Regions from separate parts of the Homo sapiens genome. Here regions 2, 3, 4, 5 and 6 are each linked to region 1. Evidence: promoter capture Hi-C in 16 types of primary human blood cells and fetal thymus (Javierre and others, 2016). All regions are on one chromosome and are shown on one strand. Each heading gives the region's core, a stretch centred on a gene start or on the middle of the fragment in contact. The rest is flanking DNA. Distances are from core to core; before and after follow the strand shown.

Region 1 (3,167 bases), core at 362-2,861:
CCCCTCAAAAAAATAAAATAAAAATCACAATGAGATACCACTACACACCTATTCAAATGACAAAAATTAATTTTTTAGAAAACTGACAATACCAAGTGCTGACAAAGTTGGAGAGCAACTGTAACACTCATATTGCCAATGACAATGCAAAATCATCACTTTTCAAAACTGCTTAGCAGTTTCTTATAAAGTTAAACATATATTTACCATATGACTCCACAATCTCATTCATATTTACCCAAGAAATGAAAACATATTCACACACACAAAAAAAAACCTGTACATGAATATTTATACCAGCTTCATCAATAATAGCCAACAACTGGAAAGAACTCATCCAAATATGCCTCAAGTAGGAAATGGATAAATATACTACCGTAGATCCATACAATGGACTATTACTCAGCAACATAAAGGAACAACTGATACACAGAACATGAATGAATAGCAACTGCATGATGCTAAGCTGAAAGAAGCCTGATTCAAAAGGCCACAGGGTGTTTGCTTCCATCAATATGACATTCTGGAATAGGCAAAATTACAGGAACAAAAAACTAGGAAGTTGTTGCCAGGGATGGCGTTAGGGGAGGGATTAAATACAAAGAGCACTAGGGAATTTGGGGTTCATGATGAAACTTCCGTATGCTGATTGTGGTGGTTGGTAATTACATAACTGTATACATTTGTCAAAACTCACAGAACTGTAGATTAAATGGGTGAGGCTTACCATAAGTAAGTTATACCTCAATTTTAAGTTAATATATTTGTGCCAATCTTTCTTTAGTTATGCTCATACATCCATAAAATATATTAGAATTGCTGAGTCAAAGAACACTTATGTTTCAAATTTTGGTAGTTCGCCAAATTGTACTCCAAAAAGGCTGCACCAAATTACACTACTTCCCCTACACTGGGCTGGGGCCCATCTGGTTATGTCAAAGCTGTTTCATCTTCTCCAGTCTCATAGGTGTAAAAGGTATCTGTGAATTTGGTTTACATTTCTTCACGAGAAAAGTTGAGTCTCTAATCAATTGTTTGCTGTTTGCATCTTTTTATTTTTCCTGTGAAATGCCTATTTGCATCCTTTGCCGTTTACGGTCTAGTTTAAATGGCTGGTGATCAGTTCTAGATCTTGGTGGGAAGATCCAAATCTCGGGAAAGTAGAAGCCTTGGTTACAGGTCCTAATGTTAGGTGATTCCTGGAGAAATAGCCTCCGCGGAGGCAGAAGCCGCTGGGGCCCCGCCCCCAATGAGCCCGCCCCCGCCCTCTCATTGGCCCTGTCCGCTCTCCCTGACAGTCCATCTACATGCCAAGCGGCCCGACGCAGCTCCGCCCCGCCCACTCCTCGGCGCACCGCCCCGCGACCGAGCTCCGCCCTCATCTGCGCGGCCCCTCACCTTCCCGCCGGGCCTCCTCGAGGAACTGGCCGCCGTCAGTCAGGGCGCAGATGGCCGCAGAAGCGCGCCGCAGACACTCGCCGCGCCAGCCACTTACCCCCAGAGGAGAGGGGTCTCTCCCGCCACCTCAGCCTCTCTGGTAGTGGAAGAAGCCGCCGGTCCAGATCCCTCCTGCCTGTGGGACCGCTGTTTCCCTGGCAACCAGATGCGCGATGCTTCCGGTCTCGCGATAGCGGAAAGGGCTGTACCATCCGGAAATGGGACCGGGGCCGGCGGCTGTTGGAGCCCTGCGAGCTGGGACGGCCGGCGTGTGTCCTTCCGTCTTCGCTGCCGACGGTGGGGGTTGGGAGCGATTTTTCGTCTTTAGGTTGGATTCGGAACGCGGACGTCTGGATGCTTGTGTATCTCTGTCCCTCATATTGCTGTGATGCCTTACAGGTCAGTTATCCTCTCCGAGCACAGTTTCCTCCTCCGTAAAATGGGAACAATAATAATTCCCTTCTTACAAGACTTGTGCAGCTCAAAAAGACCATGTATGTGAAGCTCTAGTAAATTTGGGGTGCTATGGAAATTTTAAAAATATGAGTTTTGCACAGATTCGGCTACAGTCCAAAAAGAGTTATAATTGCTTTTTGCACCTTCTTTCATTTCGTAGTTTCTCTAATTCTCAGTGCACGAAAATTATTTCCCTACGTCCACAAACTGATTTTCCTCACCTCCATTGCCATCATTTCTCCTGCTTTCCAGTCTGAACAGCACATTACCGTTTACAGGGCATTTTCACATTCATGGCCCCTTTGTCCTCATTGTTTTAACTAGGTACGATGTGGTTTTTTTTCAGCGAAGCAAATAGTCGTAGGCTGAGTTGCCGAAAGAACACAGCTGCAGTCTAGGCGAGTGCTGGGTATAAAAACCTGGCTATAAATGCCATCCCTATGCTCCTGAATCCTGCATCTTATCACCAGCCCAGACTTCCCTGAACTCCAGACTCCTTTACCTAACTGCCTATTTGGCATATCCACTTAGATGTGTAAGCATCTCAAACTTAACACGGGAAAAAACAACTTCTCCAGAGTCCCCCACCCACTTTCTATCCATCTCAGCAAATGGTAATTTCAGCCTGCCATGCCTAGACCAAAAACCTTGGAGTCATCCTCAATTCTTCTTCCTCTCTCACTCTACAATCTATTTGTCCTATCAGCTCAACATTCAAAATATATTCAGAATCCAAACATTCGTCACAACTTCAGTGCTTCCATTCAGGTTCATACTGACATCATCTCTAAATGATAAGGCTTTCTGTTGGCTCTCTGACCTCCACTCCTACCTACTGCTTTCCCCTGGTAAACCTGGTTCCAGCCTCACTGTCCTCATTGTTAGTGTTTCTGTGCAGGGATTTCTTCCCAGCATTTCTCAGGGAATTTATGTGGCTTTCCAAATCTCAAAAGAAAAAAAGTTGCAAACTGAAGAAAATGGGAGAAAGTATCCTAATCCTCCTATGAGAATTAAAACTTAGCAGCCGACCTAGAGATGTTACTGAAGAAATTCACCAATGTCAAGTTGAAAACCAGCACAGGAAATGCTGAGTTCGAGGTTGAGGTGAACATTTTCAGGAACCAGGTCAGGAGCACTTGGGAGAGACATGGCCACAATCTCATCAGTCAGTCTTGTTTGTAGTTGGTGCCATGAAAGCCTATGTTCCTGGCCCTGTGTGCCGCTGGCAGTGAGTCATTCTTGCAAATAAAATATAAATAGGTTGATACTCATTG
Region 2 (3,167 bases), core at 303-2,802, 1.3 Mb before region 1:
TTTTAAGGCTGTTGATGCATACTCCAGAGTTGCCCTTCAAACAGATTATAGTCATTTATTAGAAAGGTTATGTAGTTTCTTTTCTTCACTGTTTTACTAGTATTGAGATAATATTGTGAATGTAATTTTATAGCTTGCTTTTTCACTAAATATATTGTAACCATTTTCCAATATCTCTAAAAACTCTATTTTAGTACCCTTTTTAAAATTAACTCTTAATTTTTTTGAGATATAATTAACATAAAATTTACCATTTTATTTTTATTTTTGAGTTGTAGTCTTGTTGTTGCCCAGGCTGGAGTGCAGTGCCATCATCATAGCTCACTGCAACTCACTGGAGGGTCAAGTGATCCTCCCACTGTGGCCTTCGCTCAGGCAGCTGGGACTACAGACGTGTGCCACCACACCTGGCTAATTAAAAATTTTGTTTTATTTTTTATAGAGACAGGGTTTTGCCATGTTGCCCAGGCTGGTCTCAAACTCCTGGCCTCAAGTAATGCTCCCACTTCAGCCTCCCAAAGTGCTGAGATTACAGGAATGAGCCACTGTGCCTGGCCAAAATATACCATTTTAAAGTGTACAATTCAGTGGTTTTTAGTCTGTTCACTGTGTTGTGTAACCCTATATGTAATTCCATAACACTTCCATCATCCCAAAATGACATAGCTACCTCTCAGCAGTCATTCCCAATATTCCCTACCTCCATGCCCTGGCAACCATTACTATAATATACTTTACATTTCCATGGATTTGCCTATCTGGACATTTCATATAAATGGAATCATACAATATGTGGCTTCTGCATCTGGCTTTGATTTAGCATAATGTTTCCAAGGTTTATTCATGTCATAGCATGTAACAGTACTAAATTTCTTTCAGTATCCTTCTTATGGCTGCATTATATTTTATCATTTAGTGATTCAATAGTTTACTTCTCTTATTTTATACATTTTTTTCTATATTAACAATACCAGGCATGTTTCTGTGTTTAATTTTTATATATAAATTTCAGAGTAAAATTTTATGGTGGATTCCTTAAAGGAAATTTACTGTGTCAAAGGTTTTGTCTCTTAATGCTCTCGCTTCCCATGGCCAAATTGTTTTCCACTTAAGTTTATATGAATTTAAACTCCTTCCAGTAAGGTAAATGAAATGTTGTGTCACTTTAGCCTCTTTATTGCTAACTTGATGTTAAAAAGACTAACTTGTTTTGTCTGTTCTTATTATTGACAAAGTTGAACTGTTTTCATAAGCTTATTAGTCATTTGAATTTCCTCTTTTTAACTTCTATTTATGTCTTGTCATTTTTTTTTCCTGTAAAATTCTGTTTTCTTTTTGTGTTTGAGGTTTTTATATAGAAAGGAAGTTTGCTGGTTGAATTATTTGTTGAAAATATTTTCCCCAGTTGTCATTAGATGTTGTTTTATATCTTTTAAAGTACAGAAATTTTAATTTTTATAATGTAGTTGTTTTTAAATTGAAAATTAAACCTCAAACAGTTAACTTTTTGTTCTCTTTGGAATTCCCTTTGTTATATGGTGTGCTGTATTATTGTTATTATTACAGATAGCCACCAGGTCATTCCAGCACCATTTAAAAGATAATCCTTTCCTTTTCTCGTTGATCTGTGATGTCTCCTTTATCATTTATTGCATTCATAGATTTATGAGGCTCTGAGTCTCAATATACTATTTCATCAATCTATGTTTTTTTCTCCCAAGTTCTAGTTAATTAGATGGAGGTAGGATAGCAAACTGTTATCTATACTAGACCTGTGCTTGGGGGTCAGGTAGACCTTTGTTGCTAAGTGGGCAGAGCTAGGATTCTCTCTATATTTTGGGGAAACTAACTTAAGCTTTCTATGCCTCATTTTTTTTTTCCATCTGCAAAAGGGGATAATAAAAACCAACCACTCTAAAAGGATATTTTGAGGATTAAAGAAATAATGCCTTACTAAGTGAACAGCATCCTGGCACATTTAATAAGTTCTCATTAAATGTTAACTGATAAGATGATGATAATTTTGTATTATAGCATATTAGTATTTGGTAGGATTATATTTCAAAATGCTTTTAGTTATTCTTACATATTGAGTTTCTGGATTTAACTTTAGATTTTTTTTTCATTCTCTCAAAAACTATTTATATAGGATTATAAGTTAATTTGGGGGAAAACTGACAATAATACTTAATGTTCCCATACAGAAACTTGGTATTTCTTACCATTTATACAAGTTTTCCTTTTGTTTTTGCAAGATTTACTGATGTTTCCCTTTTAAATGTCCTGTATGTGGTTTTGGTAAAACTATTTTTTAGGTATTTTTTGTTAATATGTATAGAAATTTTTTTGTTATTATTTTTTAGCGAGTTGTTGCTGGTAGTTACATATTTTTAACACCTGTTGGTCTATTTTATTTGTTCTAAATTATTCATAAATTCTCAGATATTTGGGTGTTTTTGCTCTTTTCTAACTCCTTGCTTATGCATTATCTCCTTTTCTTTATTTCTAAAGATTATGATTGTTTTTGCTCTTTCATTAAAATGTACTTTTGTTCCTTTTTTCCTTAACTCTTGTCATTTAGGTAAAAACAGATGATATAGCAAGAATTTATCAGCCTAAGCGTTATGCTTTGTCACCCAAGACAACGATTACAATGGCACATCTACTTGCTGCTCGTGAAGATCTATCCAAGATCATTAGGACAAGTAGTGGCACCAGCCGGGAGAAGACCGCATGTGCCATTAATAAGGTTGGTGTTTCTTTCAGTACAGTGGAAAATGAATTGATGATATCTTACTTAATGTTTTTACAGATTTTAGTCTATTTTTCTTTCATGTCCTGGTAAATGTTTAGAAAAAAGAGTGGCAGGGGGGTTCAGTCTAGGCTTAGTTATGTTATTTTTGTGTATGTGTGTATGTTCACTTGAATTTGTGTATTCATAAATCAAAGTATTTTCTGAATTAGAGGAATTATGAATTGTTTTTGTCAAAGCTTTAGCAAGAATTATGTTCCATCTTTCTAAAAAGTAATCATTTTTTGTCAGTAAGAATCTTTCGGAATTGTTTCAAGTACTGACAGATTCGTTATATCCTTGGTGTAAAGGGAAGAAGAGTTTGTGCTTTAGAGTCAGACCAATCTGGGTTCCCATCCTGGCTCTGTCATTTACT
Region 3 (3,167 bases), core at 370-2,869, 1.3 Mb before region 1:
GCAGTAAGTCTGGTTCTGGTCACCTTTCACGCATAGGTGGTCTCTGTTACTATGCAGAAATCAAATTCGCAGCTGCCTCTACCTGCTTCTAGACATGCAGCCAAGCAGACCAGTAGCTTTAGCATCTACTCCTTGCAGTATGTTTCTAGTACATGTGTAACCTTGAGATATCTGTTTTTGAATGCACTATGCCTTTTAATGTGATTTATATATTATATATGTTAATTTACATTATATATACACACACATATACATATGCATGTACATACATATTTTCCCTAGTCACTGTTTTGGGTTTGGAGCTGGGGATAGGGTGGGATAGTTAACTGTTAACTTGAGGCACTATCTTGGCCAGAAGTCAGTATCTGTGCTTGGTGTAGGTGCTCAATAAGTACCTGCTGATTTTTATGCCTAACTAGGACTCTGCTATTCTCACACCTTAAGTCTAAGACATAGGCATGGAGCTAAAATCCAAAACTGTGGGAGGGGTCAGCCCTGGCCTAGCTGTTGAGGTTACATTTAAACTCAAACACAGAGTCATGAGGTAATCTTTCCGTCTCTAAAACTTTTCCCTTCCTACTTCACTTTCCAAGATGAATGTTCCCAGTGCCTACTTACCATGGAGCAGATCTTTGGCTCCCAATGAGCAAAGGTTGGACACTGGCCCCACAGAAGTGTTGTTCTCTGTGGGAGCTACTGGGTTCTTGGCTCGCTTCTTACACTCAAACACAACCAGATCTTTGCATTGTTTGTGACAGTTCATCCCGCAGTCTGTGGACAAGACATCCTGGGTCAAGAAGTCTTTCACTTTTCTCTCTTCCCCAGTGTGTCTCACAACCAAATTCATGCAGTGCTTTCTTGTCACACATGTCTGTTCTATCTTCTGGAGCTAAGACACTTAACATTCCTAATGAAGCTAGCATTCTTCTCACTTGGTGAAGCCCAGAGCTCACACTCTTGATGTAGCCCTTATCAGTGAATCTCAGCATCAGAAGCAGTATCCTGATATCTTGGAGGGAAGAGATGGTGTCCTGGTATCCCATACATTCTGCCTACTCTAGGGAGACCCTCCGGAAACACTCAGCTGTTAGGTCTTATTTTCTTTCTTGCAGTAAAAGGTTTCCTCTCTTTCACTCCTGAATTCTCCTAGTCACAAGGAAGGACAGTTATGTCCTGAGTGATAAAGGAAAGCTGACAAGGGCCTTTAGTAATCATTTATCTTCTGTTGCAGAAGAGATTCTATCTTTTTCACTGGGGACCCACCCTTCCATGACTATATGAGAGCACCATCTCCTACCTGCTATCCCTGTTCTAGGCCAGCCACGACAGAAAGAGGATTTTATACAGAGAAAATGCCTATCTGTGCAACCAGGCATTTCTCTCTTCGGTGTGGCGGTCATTCACCGGGGGTGTCCGAGGGAAACCACTTTGGGGATGAGACTCTGAACTATGCTGAGAAGTTGTGGACTAAATGGACAACTACTATGGGTAAAAAATGTTTTAGAGGTGGGACTCTAAGACCAGCTGATATGGTTTAGCTCTGTGTCCCCATCCAAACCTCACCTTGTAGTGCCCATAATCCCCATGTGTCATGGGAGGGACCCAATGGGAGGTAAATGAATCCTGGGGGCGGTTACCCTCATGTTGTTCTCATGATAGTGAGTGACTGCTCATGAGATCTGTTGGCTTCATAAGGGCTTTTCCCCCTTTTGCTCAGCACTTCTCCTTCCTGCCAGCATGTGAAGAAGGATGTGTTTGCTTCCCCTTCTGCCATGATTGTGAGTTTCCTTAGGCCTCACCAGCCCTGTGGAACTGTGAGTCAATTAAACCTCTTGCCTTTATAAATTACCCAGTCTCAGGCAGTTCTCTATAGCAGCGTGAGAATGGACTGATACACCAGGAATATGTCAACAATATTGAGTCTTACCTTTACATCGATATCCTTGTTTGATCACTCCCCAGAGCTATGAAACAAGAGACAGAATGCACCACATGTCATTCATCCATCTGGTGTGAGGCTACAAGGTGACATTCCTTTATTTTCCTTCATTTTACTCTCTAGCTCAAGTGGGAAGGAAACCTCATTTATCTCTCATGTCTTGTCCCTTCTGACCTTAAATCCATGAGAAGAGTTTATGCTGATCAAAGTTTCTCAAGAAGCAGGTTTTTTTTGTTTTGTTTTTTTTGAGACAGTCTTGCCCAGTTGCCCAGGCTGGAGTGCAGTGGTGCGATCTCGGCTCACTGCAACCTCCACCTCCTGGGTTCAAGCAATTCTCCTGTCTCAGTTTCCCAAGTAGCTGGGACTACCAGGCATGTTCCACCACACCTGGCTAAATTTTTTTGTATTTTTAGTAGAGACGGGTTTTCACCATGTTAGGTGGGCTGGTCTCGAACTCGGGGCCTCAAGTGATCTGCCTGCCTTGGCCTCCCAAAGTGCTGGGATTACAGGCATGAGCCACCACACCTGGCTCTCACTAGCAGCCTTATGACCCAGACATTCTCGAGAAATGGATGAATCATCGGGCAAACAGGTTCCTCAGGACTCCAAACTGAGAAGGATATAGAGCCTTGCATCAGGACCCGAGTTTAGGGGGAAACGATTGGTCAGGAGTGGAACGGAAGAGGGGCATAGCCAAGGTTATCTCCTAAAGACAGAAGGTATCTCATATGTCTTTGTTATAACACTTGAAACAGCACATGAATATTATACTTTAAAAGTATATCCTAATTCAGCATTTCTGGTACCATTTATCTAAGGCCTCATTGCAATAGAAAAGAAAAAACAGGAAGAAGCGAGAGATGATGAGTGCAGGTAAAAACCACACGCTTGAGCTCTAGGTTATTCTAGGTGTCTGTCTGGGCTCCAAGCTGGGATGGGTTCATAAGGATTGTGAGGTCTGTGCCTGTCTTAAAGTATCCCACACTCTTCCCCAAATTCAGCCCTGGAGCACCCTAAGAACAACTTACAAATCCAGCACAGTTGTCACAAAAAGTGGGCTTCAGGTAGGTGGTCTCTTGGAAGTTGTGAGGAAAGCCCAGGCCCAGCTTGGAATAGATTGAGCTGGCTCTCATGAAGTAGGCTGTGATCTCATCCCTGCTGATGAGGCCTTCCCTGCCGGCAGATGACCAAGGCAAGGATGTGAGTATAAGGGGCATGGAGGCAGGTA
Region 4 (3,167 bases), core at 335-2,834, 1.3 Mb before region 1:
GCATGTGGTGCAGCGTCAGTGTTGTAAATCCAGTCAGTCTACACGTGAGTGCTGAGCCTGGGCATCATTCAGAGGTCCTTAGAGCCCCTATGCCATGGCAAAGGCTGCCCCCCACAGGGAGCAGGGCACCCTCTTTCTCACTTCATTCAGGAGCTGAAGCAAACACCAGCACATGCAGGCTAAATAGTAAGAGGCTCAGGCATCTGCTGATCTTGGTAAACTTCAGTGTTTGCTGGAACCCTCAGACCCCATACCTTTTTCTTTTCTTCATAGCTAGTACTGTGGCTATAAAGTACCAGTACAGTTCTGACTGTACTTTTCAGGCACCTAAACTATTCAAAGCACATTTTCAAATTTATCCCTCTCTTCTTTTCACAATGGTAATCAGGAGACCATCTGAGCTTATTTAACTAAAAATTCTATTACTTCCAGGTCAGAGAACAGGGAAACTAAGCGTAAAGAAAGAAAATAATTTTGCCTTCAATGTTTAACCTGGCTTTCATTACAGGAGTATTATTTCATACTCTCAGAATCCCTTTCCCTACCCCAGGTTACATCTTCACCTGAGCAAAGCCCAGATATCACAGGTAAAAGTTCTTGTAAATATAAAAAGTATCCCAATGTTTGCACCCATAGTAATGCAACATTTATTGTGTCCTACCATGAAACAGCCACTAAACTAAGTTCTAGATACAAAGATAAATAAGCCTTGCTCCCTGCCCTTGAAAGACAGAGTCTAGCGGGGGAGACGACACACAAATAGGTAAGTTACAGTGTACATACTTTTAAAATACAAAAATATATCTTTCTTAATTTGTAATTCAATCAATTTTTCAGTACCCTTGCAATCTTTTATATTATTAACCAAATTGAAATCACAGCAGCTAGACACAAACGTTCTGTACTTTACTTGAAACGGTCATCTATAAAGACCAGAGTACATAGGCACTACATTGCAAAACGGACTGAAGTTTAGGTAGATACATTTATTTAGCTAACAGAATAAAAACACTTCACACTTTCTGTGAGTTTTTCAATGCAGATTACATCCAGGCCAGAGATATGAGAAACGCACTTTGACTTAAGCAGTACAAAACTAAAATCAAAGGAATTAAATAGATTGTCAATCAATAATACTATTTTAAAACATTAGAAGTATTTTTAAAAGGGGAGAAGGGCTGGAAAAGTCTAGAAAAGCTTCCCAGAAGGGTCTTGAAAGAGCTTCTAAACAAAGAGGGTAGAAAGGCTTTCAAGGCACAGGAATGATAAAAGGCCCCATTACATCCAGTATATTGAGAAGTTCAGTGAGGAAGGGAAAGGGTTTCTCAGAGAGCTACGGAATGAAGCAGGAAAAACTCGCTGGGAACAGACTGAGGAGGCCCTTTTGCTGGCAAGCTAAGGAGTTGACATTAACTCCGTAGTCTGCAGAGGCTCAGAAACAATGGCCTGCCCAATTTGCTTTGTAGGAAAGAATTTCAAGGGTAGCTACCATGAGACGGGGTAGGCGGACCATGTAGATACAAAGACTGGAGTGGGACAGTGGTTCAGGAGAGAGACCACGGAGACATGAACTAAGGCATGGTATGGGAATGGAGAGCAGAGACCAGATAAGAGTCATTTCTGAAGTAGAAACCCTAGGATCAGGTGACAGACTGTAGGAGGTGAAAGCAGGGGAGAAGTCAAGAGTGCTTCTGATGTTACTGGTTTAGGCAAGAATAGATACTAACACTATTAACTGAAATTGACCATGAAAATACAGTCATGTGCTGCATAACATTTTGGTCCATGACGGACCACATATATGACAGTGGTCCCATGAGATTACAATGAAGTTGAAAAATTCCTATTGCCTCATCCTGTCTTCATAATCCTGACCCAATATAGGCCTAGGCTACTGTGTATACTTGTGTCTTAGATTTTGACAACAAAGTTTAAAAAGTTAATAAACATTAAACATTTTTAAAACAGAAAGAAGCTTACAGAAGAATATAAAGAAAATATTTTTACACAGCTGTACACTGTGTAGAGTCAAAGTTTTAAAAATTAAGTTTATAACATAAAGTCACAGTAAGCTAAATTATTATTGAAGAAAGAAAAATATTTTTTATCAATTTAGTATAGCCTAAGTATATAGTGTTTATAAAACCTACAGTTATGTACAGTAATGTCCTAGGCCTTCACATTCACTCACCACTCACCCCTGACTACCCAGAGCAACTTCCAGTCCTGCAAGCTCCATTCATGGTAAGTGCCCCCCTATACATATCATTTTTTAATCTTTTATACCATATTTTTACTGTACTTTTTCTATGTTTAGATATATAAATACTTACCATGTGCTACAACCACCTACAGTATTCAGTACAGTAACCTGCTGTACAGGTTTGTAGCCTAGGAGCAACAGGCTGTACCGTCTAGCCTAGAAGTGTAGCAGGCTATGCCATCTAGGTTTGTGTAAGTACACTCTATGGTGTTCACACAATGACAGAGTCGCCCAATGATGTATTTCTCAGAATGTGTCTTAGGCAAAACAAGGCTGTACTGGTGTCGAAGCAGAATTAATGAGGTAGTGGCTGTGGGTGGGGACAGTGGGCTAATGCATATATTAAAGTCTTAAGTGTTAGCAGGACAAACTGGTATAAACCTAAGAAAAATGGTTTAGGTTAGATGGCTGGGTGCCGTGGCTCATGCCTGGAATCCCAGTACTTTGGGAGGCTGAGGTGGGAGGATGACTTGATGCCAGGAGTTTGAGACCAGACTAGGCAATATAGTGAGACCCCTCTCCCCGCACCAATTTCCAAAAAAAAAAGGAAAGGTTTAAGTTAGAGAAATCCAGACTTGAAAGTCACCATCAGCACAGAAGAATGGTGGAAACAGTGGTAGGAATTCTGGTGAGAAATCACCCACAGAAAGGAAGCTGAGTAAGAGGAAAACCAGGACATTACACCATATGTAAGCAGAGCTCGAAGAAGCCTCTAGATGAAAAGCTGGAGAAGGCCCAACCCAAGAGGTAGGAAAGCCAGGAGGGTGTCGTTCCGGGAGCCTTGGAGGGAGAGCTGGGAGGAGAACGGGGTTGTCAGTCATGCCTAATGCTTCTGGGGGTCAATGGAAACAAGGATGAGAAAAAGCCATTGGGCTTTGCAATCAGGAGGTTACTGGTGACATCA
Region 5 (3,167 bases), core at 406-2,905, 1.2 Mb before region 1:
AAATCGTTCTGCCTTTTCTGGTGAAATGGGAGTAGACAAGGATTTATAAAATGCTCTATTATAGGCAGGTCGAAGGTGTTTTAACAATCCATAGAATGAATGGCCTCTGAGTCTGTAAAGGCATATTTTTTAAAAAAATACAGTAGCCAAATGTTTTCCTGTAAATGAAAAAACCAAAACCCCGAGAGAAACAAATTAACTTGAAGGTGTTTTCCAAGCCTAAAAGTAACCAAAGCCCCATAGGTTTGCTGAAGGAGACCGTCAAAACTCTAAACTGGTTTAGGTGAAATCCTCTCCAGGCATAGGTATCTCAGTGGAGGTCAGTTTCAGGCTGAGCTTTTTATGAAATCCGCCTAGAAAAGTAAGAGATGAAATGGAGCAAGGGAACTGGAACTTCCACAACTTTCTTTGCAGTGGAAGGTGACTCTCTTGACTTCTAGTATGGATTCCTTCCAGTCCCGTCCTCTTCCCCTTACAATACTCAATTTAATGTACTGAACTCCTCCTTCTGAATCTAGTGCAAAGTACAGTGGTGGACCCTCAGGGGATACCTGGATGGGGAGAGGCAGGGCGTGCATACAGGGCCAAGAATCCTTCGTTCCTGGGATTATAAGCACGGGAAGTCCAGCATCGCAAGCTTCCTGCCGCTACTGGGTATGGTGGTGCAAGGCACAGTCCCATCAGTGTCGATGTGAATGGAGTTGTGAAGTGCACAACTTGTCCAGCCCCTACGCCGAGGCCAGGCCTTTGTTCATGCAGTTGCCTAGTTCTGGTCCTTTGGCTACAAACTCAAAGCTGCCTGGCCAAGAGCCCTTTCACTCACTGTCCCTCTTTCTTCAACTTCTGTTATCCAAGACCCTCTATAGAATCATAGTGAGGGGGAGAGGAGTGCAGCTTCCCATACGGAAGGCGATATGTTTCCCTGACCCACGGATCTGGAAACTTCCGTGGGGCAGGGGCAACCGAGGGGTGCCACCTCTGCGGGCTCCCTGCAAGCTCCTCGGCCGTTCTGGGCAGGGCCGGGAGGGGCCACCAGGTGGCGCAGCCGGAGCCCAGCGCCCCAGCAGGTGCGGGCAGCGCGGAAAGTCCGCGAGTGGGAGTCCCGATGCCGGGCGTGGAGATGTGGGGGAGGAAGTCGGCGGGCGGGCGCCGGCTCCGCGAAGAGCTTCGGCCCTAGCAGATCTCACCGGACGAGCTCTGGCCTCGCGGCCGCCCCTCTACCACCCCTCAGCCCCAGCTCCCTCCCCGAAACCCCGGGCGCAGCGCGCCGGGCGTTCTGGACACGTCCGCCCGTCGCGCTGGTGTCCCGGGACTCCGGCCGACCCCGGCCCCCCTCCGCCCTCAACTTCCCTCGGGGTGTTGGGGCGACGGGCAGGGGCCTCTTTCCCAAGAAAGGACACAGGCGCTCCCGAGGGCCACGGCCGCCTCTACTCACCGCGGAGCCTCTCTCGCCTTGCCCAGGGTGCCCATGGCCGCGGCCCGCGCTCCCGGTGCCGGCTCACCTAGCGCGGCCGGGCGCGGCGCATCGCCCCCGCCACCACCGCCGCCGCCTGCCGGCTCTCTCCCCCCCGGGCCTCGTAGCCCCGGCGCCCGCCAGCCCTCGAGCCCGGCGAGCCCGACCGAGGTGCACCGCAGGCACAAACTTTGTGCGAGCGCGCCCCCTCTGCCTCGCGCGCGCGCTCACACCCGCCTGGCAACCACCTGACACGCTGATGCTGGCGGCTGCAGGAAACGTGCGGCGCCCCGCCGCTCTTCCCCGAAACCTGCCCCCTTTCCGCGGGTGCCCCGGCCTGCGCCTCGCGCGGTTCTCTCACCCCTGCCCGCCTTCGACCTCTCTTGGCCAAAGGGTTAAGTCTCAGGGGAGTTGGAGAGGAGCGGGCTCCCGGCTACCACGCCCGCGCCTTGCAGGGCACCTGTGCCCGTCGACCTCCACCTCAGCTCGGGAAACGGGCTGCGCCTAGCGGCTCCCATGGGACCCCCTTTCCCGCAGCCGACCCGCAGCTTCCACGCCTCTTCCTGCGGCCGCTGCTCGGAGCACTGCAGTGAGGACGCCTTCTCCCCTCCAGGGCCTCTCCTGTATATATCAGAGCGCGGAGTCCGGCAGGGGAAAGGAACGGAAAGACAGTTGTGAAGTTGCCTTAACCTGTGCCCTGGGGTCTCTAGGTAGCCGTCTGCAGGACTGGGCCGTAGACATGTGCCCTGTGCCCTGCGCCCTGCACCTTGGACGAGGGCTGCCTGTGTGGAGGTGCGCTCCACAGGCGTGATCCATATCTGGCCCAGACGCGGCCGCCTGGCGTCGGTGGGTGTAGGAGATGTGGGGACAACTTTCATACAACGTCAGTGCGCACAGAAGACCTGGCCAAGAGGGGCGGCCCATCCGCTGCTTGTCCAGGTGATAGTGCTGATAATCTCAATAGCTAATGATTGAGTGCGGTTGTGCTAAGTGCTTTCTATACATTACCTCATTTAATCCACTCTCCCTGATACAAAGAGATCACTGTTGTAAAGATGAGAAAATGAAGGTTTAGAGAATGCTATGCCTTAGATCATACAACTAATAAACAGCAGAGAGACCTCTGACTTGGACTGAGGTCTGTCTGACTCCCTGTAATCACTGCTGGACTGCCCTAATAACACACTCATTATCACGGCCACAGACCATAACTCTAGCCACAGTCATAGTTGTCTTCCTGGCCATAGTGTTCTGGACTTTAAAGCCTTCCTCTGTTTCATTTATATATTTCCTTATATTTATATGCTACCTTGTCCTTAAAACAGAATTCGAGATAGCTTACAAGAGCACATAACCTACAAAAAGAAGTGTGTGAAATGAAAAATGAGGCACACAAGATGGAGCCAAAAATGAACATCATTTGAAATAAATGCATCTCATAGAGTCAAATACCCTTGCTACAGGTGGGACCAAAATTTGTCTCCTGCATTTCTAGCAGTCAAGTTTAAAGAGAGGCCTTGTCTAAAGTTCAATTCCTATCACATGCAAGACCAAAAACAAAATTGCTCAAGAGAAGATCCCCCTTTCTTGATACTGAGACCAGCAAGAAATTTCTCCAGAGAATCCTCATGAACACTGGGTGATATAAAGAACCAAGTCCTCAGTCACAGCCACAGATGCAGAAGGGGCAGGTGAATGTCAGGAGAATATTAAA
Region 6 (3,167 bases), core at 340-2,839, 1.1 Mb before region 1:
CCTCCCTTCCCCTACTTCCTTTCTTTAATGATTTATAATTTTAGCCATTTCGGTGGTCACCTCAGTAAATAATTTGCTGATGGTTTTGTCTCTTGATTTCTTCACTTTCAATAACATTCATTGTCTACTTGCTGTGAAAGGTGAAAATTCAGATCATTCTGTCTTCTTTTACTCCATGCCCTTTCCAATTTTTGATAGTAATGCTATTGATTTTTGTTTTCCTCTTCATTACTTTAGTAACTGCAAATGCTATAATTTTATCTCCATCTCTTCTTCTGTGAAGCCTTAGACCTCTTAACTGTCTGATTCCATCAGATTTTCTGGCCATCCCTGCACAGGATTTCCTTGCTCCACACCCTCTGCTGTTAGTCTGACTCTACCACTTCCTCCAATACACTGTTTCAAAATGTCCTCATCCTTGAAGATGTCAGCTGACATTTAAAAGACGTCCATACTTTTGATCATTCTTATACCAGATGCACACAACACCAGTGTACAGTGTAATGTTAATTTTTACATGTTTATCAGTATCTTTTACAGAGTAATCTGTGTTAGTCTTAACGTCCTACTTAACCTGATCAACTTCTTCAGGACAGACATGGTAGTTATTTCTTTATCTTCCCACAAACAGATGTGCACCAAAGTGCACTCCGTACATGCTGCTGATTAAAATAACTAAAGAGACATTCTCATCCCTTAAGTTACTGTTGACAATTTTGAAGTGTCAGTCCGAAGTCACAGTTTTAGAAGAAAATGAGATTCTTTCCAGCCTAGGAGAGCACTTCTGTTCACCTACTGGGAGTGTTAATTAACTGATATCTAGTGTGTCTCCATCCTCCCTGGAGAGTTAACACCTTTCTTGGCATTAAGCCTTGCAAAGATTAGATAAGGGCCAGGTGTTTTTTATACACTTTTTTATTTGTGTGGGGGGCAGTGTATTAATTTTGTTTTTGTGCTATGTAGTATAATGTTTGATGGTTCTTGATATCTGATCCATTTTGGGGTACCAGTAGAAGAAAGCAAGGGGCACAGATTGGAGGGTATATTCTTGGGAGAGAGGGAAAATGCTTTTACCTTGCTGTGGTCCTGTCCTTGCTCAGTCAGATGGTAAAGAGGCAACTAAAGCCATTGGAAGGTTAGGAACCTTCCAGGGTGCAGGGTAGGCATAGCGCACACAGGCTGGTAAAGTTTCTGATCTTTTGACTTCCTGATCTTTTGAGCTGTTAATTAGATCTTACTCACTTTTGTCAAAAGATTTGTTATGAAGAATTGAGAACACCTAGAGTCTCAAATGTCTTTTTAAAATCATCAAATAAAGATTAGGTTAAATTCAACATAGGTTTAAGTTTTTGAACTTCAGTGGCAATCTAGTTGTAACATTCCATTTCCTGGCAATGGCAGATCATAAATCTTACTTATAAGCTCAGAAAGGAAGTTGTTCTTCCTCCACCCTCACCATTTAATCTGCTGTTTTGGGGCCAGTTATTTGATAAAGACCCACAACTGCTCTGTGGTGACCCCAAATCAGCACCCCTATAATGTGGCCCTGCTCTGGCTCAACCTTAGAACCTAGTCTCAGTTCCAAAGGGGTAGGAGTGGGCTGGCTACTCTGAGAAGGAACTTAAATTTCATGGTAATCTGGGGTACTCCCCTGTCTCTTCCCCATGATGACTGAAAGCAGTTCCCTTGCACTGAATGGAATTCTATTGGCCAAATAAATATTGGCTCTATGTAGTATTTTAAAGTTTCTTGGGGCAGGGTACGCGAGCAGAGAAAAAAAGTAGGGGCCTGCCGAGCGCTTAGCAAGTGAGGCTGCAACTAAAAGCTACATGAAAGGGATGGAGCTATCTGCAGCAGACAGGGGCCTCTGAAAATACATGCAGCATTTTTCCAGAGTCCACAACTGCCCATTCAAAAACACTTTCTGGTAAGTGCCAGAGAAAGTGTTATGTGGGAGGTGGCATGGTACCAGCTTGCGATTGCCTCAGGCAAGCTGAGCACAATCTCCTTTAATATTGAAGAACTAGTCTCCAGCCTCTGACTGAGGGAGAAGAGGAGGGCTTCTAACACATTCTAAAATGGAATGGCAGAGATGGAAAGTGGTATTTATTGACTTCTAATTTGCCATCTGTCTGCCTTAATATTTGTCTGAAATACAAACATGACAAAGGAAGAGCAAGTCTTTATGAAGGCTATTTGGCTTTCCACCCCAAGCCTATAGGCGTCATGACAATGGAGAGGCCAGCTCTCTCACCGCTGGCTGTCTGGTCCTCTGTCAGCCACTGTGAAAGGGGTCACAGGGAAAGCGTTAACAGATCAATGCCTTTGGCTGTGTGCTCCCTTTTCCCACAGCGATCGCCCAGGATGCCTTAAAAATAATCTCTCCTTTTCACGCAGAGTAGATTTGCAGGTCTGGAGTCCGTAAAGCCAATTTTCATTTTTAATCCGGTTTGAGCCCATCTCATTAATCAGTCAAGTCTTCCTTTTCACACTTGCCTTGGGATACAAAGAGAGCCCAGTTATGAGCTGTTAATTAGCTATTAGGGGACTGGGAAACTTCCAAGGGGTCATTATTCACAGTGAGGCTAATACTTATTTAATTAGAACTATTCCTTTCCTGTCATAAATCCCTAGTTAAAATAAATGTAGCTCAAAATGTCAGCTCAGCTTAAAAGAAACTAGTGGTTAATTCAAATTCTGCTGATTTTTTATGGGACAAATGTTTGAACAATAGTGCAATCCTGCCAAGCCAAGCATAGTAAGACCCAAGTCTAATCAGAACTGGCACTTAGGGGTTGTATATGTGTGTGTTTTGACGGAGAATGTTCATGAGACCAAGAAAGTGGGCTCCCTTTGATCATCAATCACCCTCTCACATACATTTTTTTCTTTTCTTTTCCTTTTTTTTTTTTTTTTTTTTGAGACAGAGTCTCATTCTGCTGTCTAGATTGGAGTGCAGTGGTGTGATCTTGGCTCACTGCAACCTCTACCTCCTGGGCTCAAGCCATCCTCCCACCTCAGCCTCCTAAGTAGCTGGGACTACAGGTGTGCACCACACTGTCTAATTTTTGTATTTTTTTGTAGAGATGGGTTTCACCACATTGCCCAGGGTGGTCTTGACCTCCTGAGTTCAAGCGATATGCCTGTCTTGGCCTCCCAAAGCGCTG

The links. Contacts are between HindIII fragments. The CHiCAGO score rates a contact against its expected background, and 5 or more counts as called.
Region 2: a contact is called between a fragment that was not itself captured here and the fragment with the promoter of FSIP1 in region 1, in 5 of 17 cell types (naive CD8 T cells, naive CD4 T cells, total CD4 T cells and 2 more). The highest score is 7.9, in naive CD8 T cells.
Region 3: a contact is called between a fragment that was not itself captured here and the fragment with the promoter of FSIP1 in region 1, in 2 of 17 cell types (naive CD4 T cells and naive CD8 T cells). The highest score is 7.7, in naive CD4 T cells.
Region 4: a fragment that was not itself captured here is called in contact with the fragment with the promoter of FSIP1 in region 1 in 1 of 17 cell types (total CD4 T cells); the score reaches 5.6 in total CD4 T cells.
Region 5: a contact is called between the fragment with the promoter of RASGRP1 here and the fragment with the promoter of FSIP1 in region 1, in 6 of 17 cell types (total CD4 T cells, naive CD8 T cells, non-activated CD4 T cells and 3 more). The highest score is 10.3, in total CD4 T cells.
Region 6: a contact is called between a fragment that was not itself captured here and the fragment with the promoter of FSIP1 in region 1, in 1 of 17 cell types (total CD4 T cells). The highest score is 5.0, in total CD4 T cells.

What each region holds. Positions count from the first base shown.
Region 1 is chr15:39,781,230-39,784,396 of GRCh38, forward strand. FSIP1 (fibrous sheath interacting protein 1) reads right to left here and starts at 1,612. Exons shown (of 12, transcript NM_152597.5): 1 at 1,399-1,612. LOC105370941 (a long non-coding RNA gene) reads left to right here and starts at 1,677. Exons shown (of 1, transcript NR_135665.1): 1 at 1,677-3,167. RefSeq lists a silencer at 1,242-1,421 and an enhancer at 1,722-1,851. The HindIII fragment of the contact is 7,042 bases long and covers 1-3,167 here.
Region 2 is chr15:38,478,711-38,481,877 of GRCh38, forward strand. FAM98B (family with sequence similarity 98 member B) reads left to right here. Exons shown (of 8, transcript NM_173611.4): 7 at 2,582-2,749. Among named protein-coding and RNA genes, the nearest start is that of FAM98B, 26 kb to the left of the region's middle. The HindIII fragment of the contact is 602 bases long and covers 1,252-1,853 here.
Region 3 is chr15:38,498,176-38,501,342 of GRCh38, forward strand. It overlaps RASGRP1 (RAS guanyl releasing protein 1), which reads right to left. Exons shown (of 17, transcript NM_005739.4): 13 at 2,968-3,112; 14 at 1,928-1,964; 15 at 619-771. Among named protein-coding and RNA genes, the nearest start is that of FAM98B, 46 kb to the left of the region's middle. The HindIII fragment of the contact is 5,932 bases long and covers 1-3,167 here.
Region 4 is chr15:38,521,435-38,524,601 of GRCh38, forward strand. The region is part of intron 3 of RASGRP1 (RAS guanyl releasing protein 1); the gene reads right to left. Among named protein-coding and RNA genes, the nearest start is that of RASGRP1, 42 kb to the right of the region's middle. The HindIII fragment of the contact is 778 bases long and covers 1,196-1,973 here.
Region 5 is chr15:38,563,159-38,566,325 of GRCh38, forward strand. It overlaps RASGRP1 (RAS guanyl releasing protein 1), which reads right to left and starts at 1,656. Exons shown (of 17, transcript NM_005739.4): 1 at 1,436-1,656. The coding sequence starts at 1,470. RefSeq lists silencers at 953-1,152, 1,163-1,382, 1,413-1,652, 1,813-1,862 and enhancers at 1,720-2,231, 2,073-2,262. The HindIII fragment of the contact is 3,108 bases long and covers 636-3,167 here.
Region 6 is chr15:38,666,679-38,669,845 of GRCh38, forward strand. No RefSeq gene overlaps it. Among named protein-coding and RNA genes, the nearest start is that of LINC02694, 28 kb to the right of the region's middle. The HindIII fragment of the contact is 3,643 bases long and covers 1-3,167 here.